2 separate regions of the Homo sapiens genome follow, and region 1 is linked to region 2. Evidence: promoter capture Hi-C in 16 types of primary human blood cells and fetal thymus (Javierre and others, 2016). All regions are on one chromosome and are shown on one strand. Each heading gives the region's core, a stretch centred on a gene start or on the middle of the fragment in contact. The rest is flanking DNA. Distances are from core to core; before and after follow the strand shown.

Evidence for each region. Contacts are between HindIII fragments. The CHiCAGO score rates a contact against its expected background, and 5 or more counts as called.
Region 1: a fragment that was not itself captured here is called in contact with the fragment with the promoter of SBSN in region 2 in 4 of 17 cell types (M2 macrophages, M1 macrophages, M0 macrophages and 1 more); the score reaches 6.0 in M2 macrophages.

What each region holds. Positions count from the first base shown.
Region 1 is chr19:35,411,512-35,414,453 of GRCh38, forward strand. All of the region lies in intron 4 of LINC01531 (long intergenic non-protein coding RNA 1531), which reads left to right. Among named protein-coding and RNA genes, the nearest start is that of LINC01531, 7.4 kb to the left of the region's middle. The HindIII fragment of the contact is 289 bases long and covers 1,140-1,428 here.
Region 2 is chr19:35,526,813-35,529,637 of GRCh38, forward strand. SBSN (suprabasin) reads right to left here and starts at 1,499. Exons shown (of 4, transcript NM_001166034.2): 1 at 1-1,499. The coding sequence starts at 1,469. RefSeq lists enhancers at 203-704, 2,150-2,650. The HindIII fragment of the contact is 2,098 bases long and covers 1,126-2,825 here.

The DNA.
Region 1 (2,942 bases), core at 34-2,533, 120 kb before region 2:
TTCTTTCTCATTTCATTTATTCCTCCACTGACTTGGAAACTGTATGTTCTGTTTCCATTATTTAGTGGTTATTTTAAACACTGTAAGATGGTAGGAGTTCCTCAATGAGTTACTCCCTCCCTCCCTTCCTTCTTCCCTTTAATACCACACATCAAGGAAAACCCAACCCAAGTAGCTTCGAACTATGTGAATCTAGGGCAGCAGTTTTCAAAGCACTGTCTGTGAGGTCAAAACTATTCATAATGCTATTAAAATGCTGATTGCTCTCTTCACCTTCATTATCTCACAAATAATGTGCACAGTGGAGGTTTTGAGAGCTACGTGACGTGATATCATGACGGAATGAATGCAGACCAGATAGGAAAATACAGCTGTCTTCTATTAAGCCAGGCATTAAAGAGATCTGCAAAAATGTAAAACAATGCCACTGTCACGAATTTTTTGAAGATATAGTTGTTTTTTCTAGGAACGTGTCATTTATATTAACATGTAATGGTTTTATGGTTATTATTATTATAAGATAAGTTAATACACATTTTTAAATTTTTCTGTTTTAACTTTGTTTTTTTTTTGTTTTTTTTTTTTGTTTTTTTTGATACGCAGTTTCACTCTTGTTGCCAAGGCTGGAGTACAGTGGTGTGATCTCGGCTCACCGCAACCTCTGCCTCCTGGCTTCAAGCGATTCTCCTGCCTCAGCCTCCCAAGTAGCTGAGATTACAGGCACAAGCCACCATGCCCGGCTAATTTTTGTATTTTTAGTAGAGACAGGGTTTCACCATGTTGGTCAGGCTGGTCTCGCACTCCTGACCTCATGATCTGCCCACCTCAGTCTCCCAAGGTCCTAGGATTATAGATATGAGCCACCACGCCTGGCAGGAATTTTCATTTTTGCTTTTCTTTCCTTTTTTTTCTTTTTTCTTTTTTTTTTCGAGACAGTGTCTCACTCTGCCACCCAGGGTGAGTGCAGTGGCATGAACACAACTCACTGCAGCCTCGTCTTCCCAGGCTCAAGCAACCCTCCCACCTCAGCCTCCCAAGTAGCTGGAACTACAGGTGCACGCCACCATGCTCAGCTAATTCTTGTATTTTTTGTGGAGATGGGGTTTTGCCATGTTGCCCGGGTTGGTCTCAAACTCCTAAGCTTAAAGCAATCCACCTGCCTCAGCCTCCCAAAGTGTTGGGATTAGAGGGGTGAGCCACCACACCCATCCCTTCAGTAATTTTCAAGAGTATAAACCGACCTTGAGATCCACAAGTTTGAGAATTGCTGACCTGGTGAGATGACAGACAGGATTACTCTGCTAAGTGCAATTGTGCACATATAAAACCTTCTGCTACCTGATGTGTCTTTAATGATTCGAAATTTCATAAAGTCTAATGCCACTTAACCTCTCAAAGTGAGTTTAAAGTTTGCCTGATAAAATGCAAAGCTTGTTGAGATATTAAATATGATACTTAACAATCAGAACTATTCCATGAGGAGATAAAGAAGTAACAAAGCCGGCTCAGATGGATGGGATGTAATTGCGCCGCACAGACCTGTATTCACCATGTTATGTTAGTTCCTGTTCTAAAGATGCTTTTTTTTTTTTTTTTTTTTTTTTTTTGAGACAGAGTCTCGCTCTGTAACCCAGACTGCTGCAGTGCAGTGGCATGAGCTTGGCTCACTGCAACCTCCGCCTCCCAGGCTCAAGCAATTCTTATGCCTCAGCTTCCCGAGTTGCTGGGATTACAGGCATGCGCCACCACACCTGGCAAATGTTTGTATTTTTAGTAGAGATGGGGTTTCACCATGTTGGCCAGGCTGGTCTTGAACTCCTGGCCTCAAGTGATTCATCAACCTCAGCCTCTCAAAGTGCTAGAATTACAGGTTTGAGCCACCGCGCCTGGCCTAAGGATTGTTTAAATTGGAGTTTTTCTTCTTGTTTTATGGGGAAGGATTACTTCATCTACAATTAGGTGGAATATTAACCCAAACTATATGTAGGATTTCCAATCTTAGAGGCTATAGGAACTGGGGGAGAAGGAAAGCATAATACTAATTATATTTGTCCTATGTCATCCTAGGGAAAGTGCATATTTAATTCCTGTCAGCAAAGATTAAAGAAAGATTTTCAGGGCAAAAGTTATAAACAGGCTTAGTGTGTTTTATTTTGAACGGGGGAATTCACAAAGCCTTTGTGAAAGCCTCAATTTTACTGTTAGACTACTTGATAGCACCTAGTTAATATAAGCTAGGGCGATTCAACTAGTTCCATTGCACCTCCCGGTAAATAAATGGTTCCTGAGGCATTGTGTTAAGCGAGGAATGGAAGTTTGAAGGTTACCGGCAAGGCTCCTTCAGCCCTCTCCGGTTTTCAGGTTAATGGTGGGGAGAGTGAGTGTCCACCAGAAAGGGACTGTGATGTGACGTTAGGTCACTTGATTTCTGTAAACTTATGGGAGACCTTTCTCCTAAAGATGGGCTCAAGATGCCACCATTTACAATGTTACTCTCAATGACCTTGGGGAAGTCCTGCTCCTAGGGGTGGGACACAGTGATAAGAGGGAGGGGTGTGCCGGGCATGGTGGCTCATGCCTGTAATTCCAGCACTTTGGGAGGCTGAGGCAGGCAGATCACCTGAGGCCAGGAGTTCAAGACCAGCCTGGCCAACATGGCAAAACCCCATCTCTACTAACAATATAAAAATTAGCTGGGCGTGGTGGTGTGCAGCTGTAATCCCAGCTACTTGAGAGGCTGAGACAGGAGAATCACTTGAATCCAAGAGGCAGAGGCTGTAGTGAGCCAAAATCATGCCATTGCACTCCAACCTGGGCAACAAGAGCAGACACTCCGTCTAAAGCAAACAACAACCAAAAAAAAAAAAAAAAAACACAAGAGGAAGGGGTGGAAGAGTGTACTGATTGTTGGACCCTGAGGATTGCAATTTTATCATAACATT
Region 2 (2,825 bases), core at 249-2,748:
TCCTTCCCAGCCTGGTGGACCCCAGTGTGGAACCCTTGGACCGCTTTGTCTGCTTCCTTCCCGGCCTGTTCAAGGGTATGGTGAACTCCCTGGCCAAACTGCCCTGCCTCCTTCCCGGCCTCGTGGACCCCAGGTTGGACACCATGAACTGCTATGTCTCCCTCTTTCCCAGCCTGCCCTGCTGTGTGGTGAATGTCGTGGCCAAACTGCCCCGCCTCCCTTCCAGCCTGACTAACGCCATGATGGAGGCCTTGGACCACTCTGTCTTCCTCCTTCCCCACCTGCGAGGCAGCATGGTGGACACCCTGGCCAAACTTCTCTGCTTCCTTCCAGGCCTCATTAACCCCATGGTGGACCCCATGGCCGAGCTTCTCTGTTTCCTTCCCAAACTGACTGGCAGCATGGTGGACCCCCTGGCCAAACTTCTCTGTCTCCTTCCAGCCCTCACTGAGACCATGGTGGACCCCCTGGCCAAACCTCCCAGCCTCATTTCCGGCCTGCCCCGCAGCATGGTGGGCCCCCTGGCCAAATCTCCCTGCCTCATTTCCGGCCTGCCCCGCAGCATGGTGGGCCCCCTGGCCAAACTTCTCTGCCTCCTTCCCAACCTGACCAGCAGTATGGTGGACCCCCTGGCCAAACTTCTCTGTCTCCTTCCAGCCCTCACTGAGACCATGGTGGACCCCCTGGCCAAATCTCCCTGCCTCATTTCCGGCCTGCCCCGCAGCATGGTGGGCCCCCTGGCCAAACTTCTCTGCCTCCTTCCCAACCTGACCGGCAGCATGGTGGATCCCCTGGCCAAACTTCTCTGTCTCCTTCCAGCCCTCACTGAGACCATGGTGGGCCCCCTGGCCAAATCTCCCAGCCTCATTTCCGGCCTGCCCTGCAGCATGGTGGACTCCCTGGCCAAACCTCCCAGCCTCATTTCCGGCCTGCCCTGCAGCATGGTGGACTCCCTGGCCAAACCTCCCAGCCTCATTTCCAGCCTGCCCTGCAGCATTGTCGACTCCCTGGCCAAACTTCCCTGCCTCACTTCCCGCCTGGTTGGCCCCGTGATGGACCCCATGATGGATCAGTTTGTCTGCCTCCTTCCCAACCTGTCCAGCAGCGTTGTTGACCCCATGGCCAAGCTTCTCTGCTTCCTTTCCTGCTTGTCCAATACCATGGTTGATCTCATGGGCAACCTTGTCCATGCCGTGGTTGAGCCCCTGGACGCCTTTGTCCAACTCCTTGCCGGTGTGGCTCCCCATGTTGCTAAGTCCGTTGAAAACCTTCTCCACTTCCCTTCCGGCATGCGTGATTCCACTGTTGATGCCATCCAGGGCCTTGCCCACCTCTCTCTCTGCATTGCTCAGCCCTCGGTTGATCCCTTCAATGACCTTCTCAATGGGGTCATCGCTGGCCGCCCATCCAGACAGGGCCCCCAGTAGCAGAAGGAGGGAGCAGGAGCCGACCAGACGTGCAAGATGCATATTGCTGGGAAGGTCGGGAAGGATGCAGAGAGGAGCCAGGGAAGCCACGCTGCTATTTATCCTCTCTCCCTCTCGCCCTCTTCTCCACCCCTCATGACTCAATTACCCCTGTGAGGCACTGAGTTGGTCTTCAGTCAAGGAGGTGTTTCCCAGGGAGATTTGGAGTTGAGCAATGGAGAGGAGGAGGAAGAGAGGGTGAGTCATGGATGGAGAAGAACTCTGGCATCTTTGCTCCTTGCCCTCCACCCCAGAGATGGGTGTCTGCCCTTCCAACCACCTCCTCTTTCATTCCTCACCCACTGTCCAGGCCTCCTCTCTCGCAAACCCACCTTCCACCATGCTCCATCCCTGGGATGCAGGCAATTCTTCAACACCTCACTCCTCTCAGGCATCTAAGCCTCCAGCTCCCCAGGCAGTGAGGGGCTAGAATGATGGGAGGCACCGTCTGGAGAGGGGAGAACACTAGGTGGGATGAAGGAGTCATCAGACCTCGTTCTTGTGGGCCAGCCCCTGCCCTCACTCATTCCATTCCAGCCACACAGGCCTTCTCCCTGTTCCACAAACACACCAAGCTCATTCCTGCTGCAGGGCCTTTGCACATGCTCCTCTCTCTGCCTGGAATGCAGAACCCAGATCTTCACGTGGCTGGCTCCTCCTCATCCGTACTTGACTTAAATGCCAACTTCGCAAGAAAACCTCTCCTGACCATAACATGGCATTAATTATACTCTGTAGTATCACCCTTTTGTTTTCACAGAAAAAAAAAATCTGAAATTACCTTTATTTTTTATTGCCTGTCTCACCTACTAGCAATGTAAATTGGTCGTGTTGATCACTGCTGTATTCCTAGCTTCTTGAACACTGCCTGGGGTTCAGTAAATATTTATTGACTGGACAAATGGATGGATTCGAACAGGCCAAGGAAAGAGACTCCGAGCCCGAGTCTGGGTCTCACAGGGTGCTGGAGGGAAGGGCGCCTGGGTCGCCAGGGCAGCATAGAGTCCCTTGTGGAGTGCCGCAGATTTTGGAGGCAGGATCCCATTCCTGTCGCAGAACCCAGACCTCCTGCCTCCCAGCCCTTGGGCAAGGGCAGGGGGCTGATTGCCACGAGCTGGAACAGGACGCAGTGTCTCCTGAAAAGCCGGTTGAGGCAGCCACGGGGAGGGGCCGAAGACCCAGGGCAGCAGGAGCCTGTGAGCCAGAACCTGGGCTGGGGCCAGGCCCTCATCCTTCCTGCCCTCCCGACATGGGGCCTCCTAAGCCCCAACCTGAAGCCCCAAGTGTTGACATATTGGCTCGGGTTGGAGGGGAAACAGCTGAGAGTCTGGCCTCAGGCATGAAAAGGGCATCGGAAGG